Regions from separate parts of the Homo sapiens genome. Here region 2 is linked to region 1. The links are contacts of gene promoters, found by promoter capture Hi-C in human tissues and cell types (Jung and others, 2019). All regions are on one chromosome and are shown on one strand. The core of a region is centred on a gene start or on the middle of the fragment in contact, and the rest is flanking DNA. Distances in the headings are between cores, read along the strand shown.

Evidence for each region. The method cuts DNA at HindIII sites, captures the fragments that hold promoters and counts their contacts. A contact is called where the count stands out against the background at its distance.
Region 2: a fragment that was not itself captured here is called in contact with the fragment with the promoter of PNPLA5 in region 1 in 2 of the 25 tissues and cell types used here (IMR-90 fibroblasts and mesendoderm cells).

The regions. Positions count from the first base shown.
Region 1 is chr22:43,890,164-43,894,769 of GRCh38, reverse strand. It overlaps PNPLA5 (patatin like domain 5, triacylglycerol lipase), which reads left to right and starts at 2,757. Exons shown (of 9, transcript NM_138814.4): 1 at 2,757-3,082; 2 at 3,476-3,708. The coding sequence starts at 2,890. The HindIII fragment of the contact is 8,381 bases long and covers 1-4,606 here.
Region 2 is chr22:44,478,409-44,483,014 of GRCh38, reverse strand. No RefSeq gene overlaps it. Among named protein-coding and RNA genes, the nearest start is that of RTL6, 18 kb to the left of the region's middle. The HindIII fragment of the contact is 4,944 bases long and covers 83-4,606 here.

The sequences.
Region 1 (4,606 bases), core at 1,508-4,007:
AAGCCCCTCCCAGTCACCTCTTCCTGTAGCAGGGAGTTTGGGAGACTAAGAATGTAAGTGCAGGGCCCTAGGACGGACCCACCTGTTGCCCCCTATTGCCTTGAAGAACCTGCAAGGGGCCTCCAGTGCTCTGTGGAAGCAAACCTCACTTCCTTTTGGAGACACTACCGTGCAAGACTGGCCTCAGGGTGGCCCAGTACGTTTGGTTATGCTTGCTTTGGATTTAGGGAGGTATAATAGAATTAGCATTATTTCCAAGAATGGGAAGCCCAGAGGCCTGGACAATATGGCAAAGGACCGGGTGGACCAGGTGCATCTTCCTTGACACCAGCTCGCCCACAACTGTCCTGTGGATGGCCAGGTCAGGCAGACACCGAGAGGGTAGGAGACTTGCTGAGGGTCACACAGCCAGCAAGCCTGAACTCCCGACATCTTCCCTTGCAGGCTCCTGGCCTTCCTGCAACCTCCCAAGCCACCCCAGAAGTGAGCCTGCCTTGGTTCAGCTGCTGGTTCCAGGGCAGCTCCCTGAGAAGATGGTGCTGCTGGGGAAGGCCGTGCTTCTGGACACTTTCTGCTAGACTTGCCACCAGCCCCATCATTCTGGTGATGCCACCAGCCAGACTGTTTTCCCACTTGATGTTGACCAGTCACCCACCCTGAGCTCTGTGCTGCCTGCTGTCTCTGGGGGGCCTCAGACAGCCCACACCAAAATGCAAGACCCAATTCCTGAAGCATCAAGCACGCAGAAACTCAGCCTGGCTCCAGGCCTTACGCTTCCTCCCACAGCCCCGCACCACCTGCCCTCACCGCCATGACTGCTCTCTCCCGCTGGCTGGCTTCTCACTCCTCCCTACTCCTCCCTGCCTGGTGCCTTTGCTCAAACTCTTCCCTCTGTGCCCATCTCCCTTTCTCCCCGTGGTGAACCCTTGATCGACCTCCAAGGTCCTGCTCAAACCTTGCTTTTTCTCCGAAACCTCCGGAACATGTCCCTGCTGAACTCCCAGCCCCTGAACTCCTCCCTTCCTGAACTCACACTGGTGGTCCACTGTTCCAGGGAGGCTCAGTCTGCCTCCGGCACAGTCACAACTGTGGGTGAAATGTTCCTGGCTGTGCCTGCTGTGACCTGGTTCCCTCCTGGAGCAGAGTCAGCACATGGCTTCTAATTACCCCCTGCAGCTGGGGCTGGGTCCTTCCCGCAATGGAGATAGCCTGGGGTACCTGCCACCAGGTGGGTGAGTCTGTGCAGGCCCATGGTCTTTGAGGCAAGGATGCCGCCCCTGGTGTGGGATCAGCAAAGCCCGGTACCGCCCACCTCTGTGGGAGGGGAGGCTGGGCTGGCCTGTCCCAGGGTGCCTTCTGCACCCAGTGCCCATGGGCAAGCTGCCCTTCACTCCCAGGTCAAGGAAGAGGTAGGTGTGAGGCTAAGAGAAGCAGATCCTCCCACCTCTTCCTCCGAAAATGACCCACCCAGGCCATGGGCTGAGCATTCAGTCCACAAACACTGTGCCACACTTCTTCCAGGCACAGATGGAGGACCTGGCCCTCAAGGAGCTCACATGAGAAGGCACTGATATGTGCCATGTGATTAAAGCAGTAACACAGGGATGGGCGCAGTGGCTCCTGCCTGTAATCCCAGCACTTTGGGAGGCTGAGGTGGGCAGATCATCTGAGGCCAGGAGTTCGAGACCAGCCTGAGCAGCATGGTGAAACCCTGTCTCTACCGAAAATAACAAAAATTAGCTGGGCGTGGTGGTGCGTGCCTGTAGTCCCAGCTACTTGGGAGGCTGAGGCAGGATAATTGCTTGAACCTGGGAGGTGGTGGTTGCAGTAAGCCGAGATTGTGCCACTGCACCCCAGCCTGGGTGACAGAGTGAGACTCTGCCTCAAAATTAAATAAATAAATAAATAACATAGCGGTTGCCATTGATTGTGCGCCACTTGATTAAAACAATCACCGTAGTAACCATTGTTTGTGTGCTTATCCAGTGCCGGGCGCTATTCCAAACACGTTACTTGCATTAACTCTAATCCTTACCGGTCCTATGGAGTAAGTAATGTTATTATCCCCACTTGATGGATGAGAAAACTGAGGCACAGATCAGTTAAATTATCCAGGGTCACCAGCCAAGACATTCTGGAGCCAGAATTGGAGCCCAGACAGCCCTAATCACTACAAACCCAAGTTCTTGGAGCTTTGCAGTTTATAAAGCACTTTCCAATGGATTGATTAGGGGAGGAGGGAGGAGGTGGGATGTTTGAGCAGGCTGTAGTGGTAGGTGAGGCTTGGAGAGCGGGTGAGCCAGGGGAAGGTGCAGTGGTGCTGGCTGGAGCGGAGGCTGGCCCCGAGACCTCTCTTTCCCTCAAGTCCCTCCCTGGAACCAGCACAGCTGCGGACTTAAGCCTGGTTTGACCCCAAAGACCAGGTGTCCTGGGTCCGACTCTGCCACTTCCTGGCTGTCACCATCCTGGGCTGCGCCTCAGTTGCCTCATTTGCGTAATGAGGACTGGAATAACATCTGCCCAGACTACCAGAGATCAGGCAAGATTTGGTCCCACTCCCCTGCCGTGTCACCCAGAAATCTATGACCCGATGCGGATCCGGGGCGGGCGCGTGGGGGCGGCGCCAGCGTATACACAGCGCGCGGGCACTTCTGGGGCACACCTGGCGCACAACTGGAGTGGGGGCTGATCGCGACCCGGGGACTTCATTGGCTGGGGCGCAGGTGACGCAGCCCGGGGGCGGCGCAGGGAGCACCAGCACCAGCCCCAGCCCGGCTCCCTCCAGAGCCCACATTTGGGCCCAGCCCCGTCCAAGGCTGCATCCCGGCCCTATCCCGGGTCACGGAGTGACCCTTCCTCGTCCCGATCACCCCGCCCGGTCCACCCGCCATGGGCTTCTTAGAGGAGGAGGGCAGATGGAACCTGTCCTTCTCCGGCGCCGGCTACCTGGGCGCCCACCACGTGGGCGCCACCGAATGCCTGCGCCAGCGAGCCCCGCGCCTCCTCCAGGGCGCCCGCCGCATCTACGGTTCCTCGTCTGGGGCGCTCAACGCAGTCAGCATCGTCTGCGGCAAGTCGGTCGGTGAGTCCCGGACCGCGGGGGCGAAAAGGGGCGGGGACAGCTTAATGAAAGCGGATCGAGCCCAGAGACGCTGGTGCCTGGCGCTGTGCTCTGCGCCCTCTACCCCCGGCACAGCCTCATTTAATCCCATGAGAACACCGAGTGCTGGGGACTAGGTGACCCCCATTTGCAGAGGAGGGATCGTGGCTCAGAGCCAGAAACTCTGTTTCCCAGGTCGGCGGGGCAAAAAGTGAAAAGGTGAACGGATCATTTGAATCCGGGGCCGAGCCCAGAAATTCTGAGCTGGAGTGGGGAGGACCCCGCTCCCACTGCACCTAGGAGGGCAGTGGGGGTGTGGAGGGACTGGCAGGATCCCTGGGCGCTGAGGTCTCCCTTTCCCTGCCCCCACTGCAGACTTCTGCTGCTCCCACCTCCTGGGCATGGTTGGGCAGTTGGAGCGGCTGAGCCTAAGCATCCTGCACCCGGCCTACGCGCCCATCGAGCACGTCAAGCAGCAGCTGCAGGATGCTCTGCCCCCCGACGCCCACGTCCTGGCCTCCCAGCGGCTGGGCATTTCGCTGACCCGCTGGCCTGACGGACGCAACTTCTTGGTCACTGACTTCGCCACCTGCGATGAGCTCATCCAGGTGTGGGGCGGGGGGTGCCCAGGGCTTGGCTGGTGGGCGGGCTCCATCTAGTCCAGAGTGACATCCAGGTACTTCCCCGTCAGACGTTTCTGCAGGGGCGGAAGGAGGGAGGGCGGGTGGACCTGTTTGTAGGTGAGGAAACTGAGGCCCAGAGAGGGTCGGCAGGGTGGGTCTGGAGACTTTCCAGGTTGCTGCACACAGAAGGGTCTGGCTGGGGCCCGGCAGAGTCAGGCTGCTGAGTCAGGGCCCCCACAGGGACTGCTCTTTCCAGAGGGCAGCTGGCTAGCCCCAGCCTCCACCCCACTCCATCCTCCCGCCGCTTTTTGGCGGTGGGTTGACATTTATTGAACACCTATTATGTGCCAGTCACTATTCTAGGCACTGTGACTGTAACAGGGAGCAAAACAGACAGAAACCCTTGCCTTCCTGGGGCTTCTATGCTCAGTGGTTCTGGGGGGCAGGCGGTATCGATAATGAACTCATCTCCAAGTAAGGAGGTAAGGAACCATCCAGTATTGAAATGAAATAGGATGTCTAAAAAAGATGCTTCACATACACCCTGACACTATTATTTGCCAATAGTGTGTACGCGCACGCTCAAGTGCAGGCACACAGTGTGACAACCAAAAATGTCTCTGACATTGTTAGGTGTCCTGTAGGGGAGAAAATCACTCCTAGTTGAGAACCACCAACCCAGAGCTTGCAAACTTTTGAATATAGGACTTTGTCTCATGGAACCCTTGGAAACGTCCCAACTCTCTCTGGGAGGTGCAGAACCCATCCTGGCCCTGACCAGATGGAGATGCAGGTGACAGTTTTGTTCCCACAGACTGATAACAGTCACGGCAGCTAATGTGTACTGAGCACCTACTATGTGCCAGGCCCCATCCCAACTGCT
Region 2 (4,606 bases), core at 1,305-3,804, 590 kb before region 1:
CACTGCGCCTGGCCCTCAAGTTTCTTAAGATGAAAACTATCTTTTGTTTCTATTCCCCAGAAGCTATGGATCTTTGTGGGCCTTGGGAGGATTTCCTGCCCTTCCCCCAGTGGCCTGGAGCTCTTGTTTTATATAAGTGAAGGGTCTGGGAAAAGGTGTTGTTTTTCATGTTTGTGCATCAAAGAAGTGGCAGCTTTTGATGCTGTCCTGCCTGTCTCCAATATTCCCAGTGAGCACTCAGAGGAGGGAAAGAGTTTGTAGGGGACTGAGATGACCTCCGCTAGGGTCTGGATTCCCACTTATTCCAGAGGGTCACAGTATCCCATATTCAGCCCATAGGAATTTGTTACTATTTTAGCCATTTGCTCCTTTTCTGTCTTTCCAGCAGCCCTATGTTTTCTCATGCTCTGCTAACAGCGCCACAATTCATGTGCCTTGTCTTATCTCTCCTCGATGGGGCTGGGCACTATTTGGAATTTACTTCCTTGTAATCTTAGCTCTCTCATGGGCTCAAGAAAAATTCCAGTTTTGTACCTTTACTCACCGTTAGGTTAGGAGTGGTGTTCTTTTGTGGCTTTCTACATGCTAAGCCTCAGCTGACTTTTTAAAAACAATTAAGAGGCTGGGCACGGTGGCTCACGCCTGTAATCCCAGCACTTTGGGAGGCCAAGGCAGGTGCATCACTTGAGGTCAGGAGTTTGAGACCAGCCTGGCCAACGTGGTGAAACCCCGTCTCTACTAAAAATACAAAATATTAGTTGAGTGTGGTGGTGGGTGCCTGTAATCCCAGCTACTTGGGAGGCTGAGGCAGGAGGATCCCTTGAACCCAGAAGGTGGAGGTTGCAGTCAGCTGAGATCACACCACTGCACTCCAGCCTGGGTGACAGAGAGAGACTCTCTCAAAAAAAAAAAAAAAAAAAAAAAGGCCAGTCGCGGTGGCTCATGCCTGTAATCCTAGCACTTTGGGAGGCCGAGACAGGTGGATCACGAGGTCAGGAGTTTGAGACCATCCTGACTAACACGGTGAAACCCCGTCTCTACTAAAAATACAAAAAATTAGCCGGGCGTGGTGGTGGGTGCCTGTAGTCCCAGCTACTCGGGAGGCTGAGGCAGGAGAATGGCGTGAACCCTGGAGGCGGAGTTTGCAGTGAGCCGAGATCGCGCCACTGCACTCCAGCCTGGGCGGGACTCTGTCTCAAGAAAAAAAAAAAAAAAGCAATACAGTATAACAACTATTTACATAGCATTGACATGGCATCAGGTATTATAAGTAATCTAGAGATGATTTAAAGTATACTGGAGGGTGTGTGTCAGTTATATGCAAATACTGCACCATTAAGTAAGGGACCTGAGCATCTTCAGATTCTGTGGGGGTGGAGGTGTGTCCTGGAACCAACCCTGCAGATACCAAGGGAAGATCGCACTGCATGTAAATACACATGCTCCGTTGAAGGTTGTACACACTCATGTGGCTGTGCAACTGCAGGGTCACTGTGGAGAGGAAGTGCTCTCTGACATTTGTCTCCTTCCAGTTTCAACCCTGTTCCACAATCAAGTTTTGTATTTTCCTTCAAACAGGTCTTATACATCTCTTGTTATAGCTACTTAGTTTAATTTTATCACATTTACCTTGACAGTCTCTATCTGACTCGTGCTGGGTTTTGTCCTTTTTTCCTGTGACTCTACTTCTCAATTATTCATGATCTAGCTAGATAAACATGTCCTTGGCAGATAAGAGTGTCTGTCTCTCCTGCTTGAGGAAGCTCACTCCCTCAACTTATTAAGTCTAATTGACTGGAATTTCTGGCACTGGGTACCAGAGATGGGAAATAGCATTTTTTTCCCAGATAAGCTACTTCTGCTTTAATCATTTGGGGAGGGAACAGAAACCTGTCCATTTCATGGAGATTTTCTAATTGATCAGCATAGAACCGTGCGTAGTTTCATCTCAGGCTTTGAGAATCCTCTCTGCATTGATCACACCCTCTTTCTTCTGCTTAATTTAATCTGTTTTCTTTTTTTTATTGATTAGATTTGTCAGAGACTAACTGTTGAACTTATTTATTTTTAAAGCATCAGCTGTTGGTTTAAAGTATTCTCTCAGTTTTCTTTCTTATTCATTAATTTCTCATTACAGTTTCACCATTTCTTCTTCCAATGCCAGCAGCTCCTAATAAGTGAGGAAGGAGCCACATTTTAATTTACACATTACAAAATACGCTTCTTAGATTGTCACCGGTGTCAGTAAGAAACCGTGTTCCACAGCAATGAAACCTGGGAAGTAATGGATTAAGTAAATTTCCCTGCTTCTTTTTTTTTTTTTTTTTCCTGAGAAATTTTCTCAGAATGTGAAAAGGGCCAATGTCCATTTAGGATGTCTAAGGAAATTTAGCTTAAGTTCCTCTTAAACTAGTTAATTAGAATATGCTTCTCTGTCTTCTTTTTTTTTTTTTTTTGAGACAGATTCTTGTGCTATTGCTCAGGCTGGAGTGCAGTGGCGTGATCTCGGCTCACTGCAAGCTCTGCCTCCCCAGTTCAGGCCATTCTGTTGGCTCAGCCTCCCAAGTACCTGGGACTACAGGCGCCACCATGCCCGGCTAATATTTTGTATTTTTAGTAGAGACGGGGTTTCACTGTGTTAGCCAGGATGGTCTCGAACTCCTGACCTTGTGATCCGCCCACCTCGGCCTCCCAAAGTGCTGGGATTACAGACATGAGCCACCCCGCCCAGCCGCTTCTCTGGTCTTCTTTTAGGCCTAAGATGCCTCAGAATTCATGCTGGGAAATGCATTCCACACGGTCGATTGTTACTTTTGATATGGCCAGTTTTCGCTCGTGTCTCTCTGTGTCTCTGTCTCTGTCTCTCTCTCCTTCTCTCTCTCTCTTTCCCCCAAACCTATCTGAGATCATCTTGGATCCATGTCTGCCACGTCCAGGTATCATCCAGATGTTTGAGAAACGTCTCTTCTAGCATAATGATGATGATGATGGTGATTATGGTGATAATGATGATGGTGATGATGGCGATGATGATAATGATGATGGTGATGATGGTGATGATGGTGATGTTGATGATGGTGATGATGGTGATGATGATGATGGTGATGGTGGTGATGATGGTGATGGTGATGATGGTGGTGATGACACTCCTGTATAGCCTCTGATGGTTTACAGAGTTTGTAATACGTAGGCTGCTCAAGTTACACAGTTCAAAGGAGGGGGTAATAACAGCACTTCACTCAAGAGGTTTATTGCAAATGCTCAGGAAGTGTTTGGCTCAGTGTGAAGTGCCCAGTGGGTTACATAGGAAGTGAATGACTGTGAGGGGTGGAGCCCAGATTCAAACCCAAGCAGTGTGGCTCCAAGATCATGCTTTCCTCATTTTTAGAACAGAATTGTAGCCTTCTACTCATTATCTTTCCTTAAATGGACCCTCATGCAAGTCTAACATGTGTGTGGCTGAGTAATCGTTAAAGCATTAATTAGCATTTTTTAATCATGTATTTTTTCTCCTATCTCTCAGGTGAGCACTGTGCAGTCAAGCTTCTTTTTTTTTCTTTTTCTTTTTTTTGAAATGAAGTCTAATTTTCTCACCCAGGCTGGAGTGCAGTGTCACGATCTCGGCTCACTGCAACCTCCGCCTCTCGGGTTCAAGGGATTCTCCTACCTCAACCTCCCAAGTAGCTAGGATTACAGGCACCCACCACCATGTCCAGCTAATTTTTGTGTTTTTAGTAGAGACGGGGTTTCACCATGTTGGCCAGGCTGGTCTCAAACTCCTGACCTCAGGCCATTCACCTGCCTCAGCTCCCCAAAGTGCTGGGATTAGAGGCGTGAGCCATGTAATCCCACTGAGTCTGGCTCAGTCAGGCTTCTCTAGTTACAGGTAGAAGGGAAGGGTGTGGTGGGCAAGAGGCAGAAAATTCCCAGGAACACTTTCTGGCTTTTGTTCAAAATCCAAGTTCAGAGAGAGAAGAGGCTTCCCCTGGTAGAAGAAGAGTGATTGGGAAGAAACAAGAAGGGAATTAGGAAACCCATACACTGGAAAGACATTCCCCAGGAGGGAAGGTGAGGACAGAACTGAGAGCAGAGGGGTCCTGAGCCCTGTCACCAGGCAGAGCTCCTGCAGGGGGTGGATTTCGCGAGACGCGCTTTGTGGCCCTTCAAGTGATGACGGGCTACAGAGTTCAGACCCACCATTTCTCTGAAGATAAGGAAACAGATGCACAGAAGATTTTAAGATCTTCCTAGAAACATCGAAGAGTGACGAGATAGTGAGTAAAATCCGAGAAGGAAATTCAGAAAGGTGAAGCCTGCATTTGGGGCGCCTTCTCCCCAGAGAGCATTAGCTGATCTGGAAGAGGAAAGTCAGAGGCCAGGCAGCACTTTTGACAGCCTCACAGGGTGACGGGGACAATCACTGGTGTCCAGAGCCTGCCAAGCAAGGCTGGGGGCCCTGGCAGACATCCCTGACCCCATATTTAGGGTTGGGTTCCAAAAGGGTGTATATTAAGTATAAAGAGTACATTGGAATAAAACCAGCTCTTTCATGTCCTATAGCTTAGCTTCCAGTAACCAGGGTAGTGCCAAAAATCTCAATCCCTGA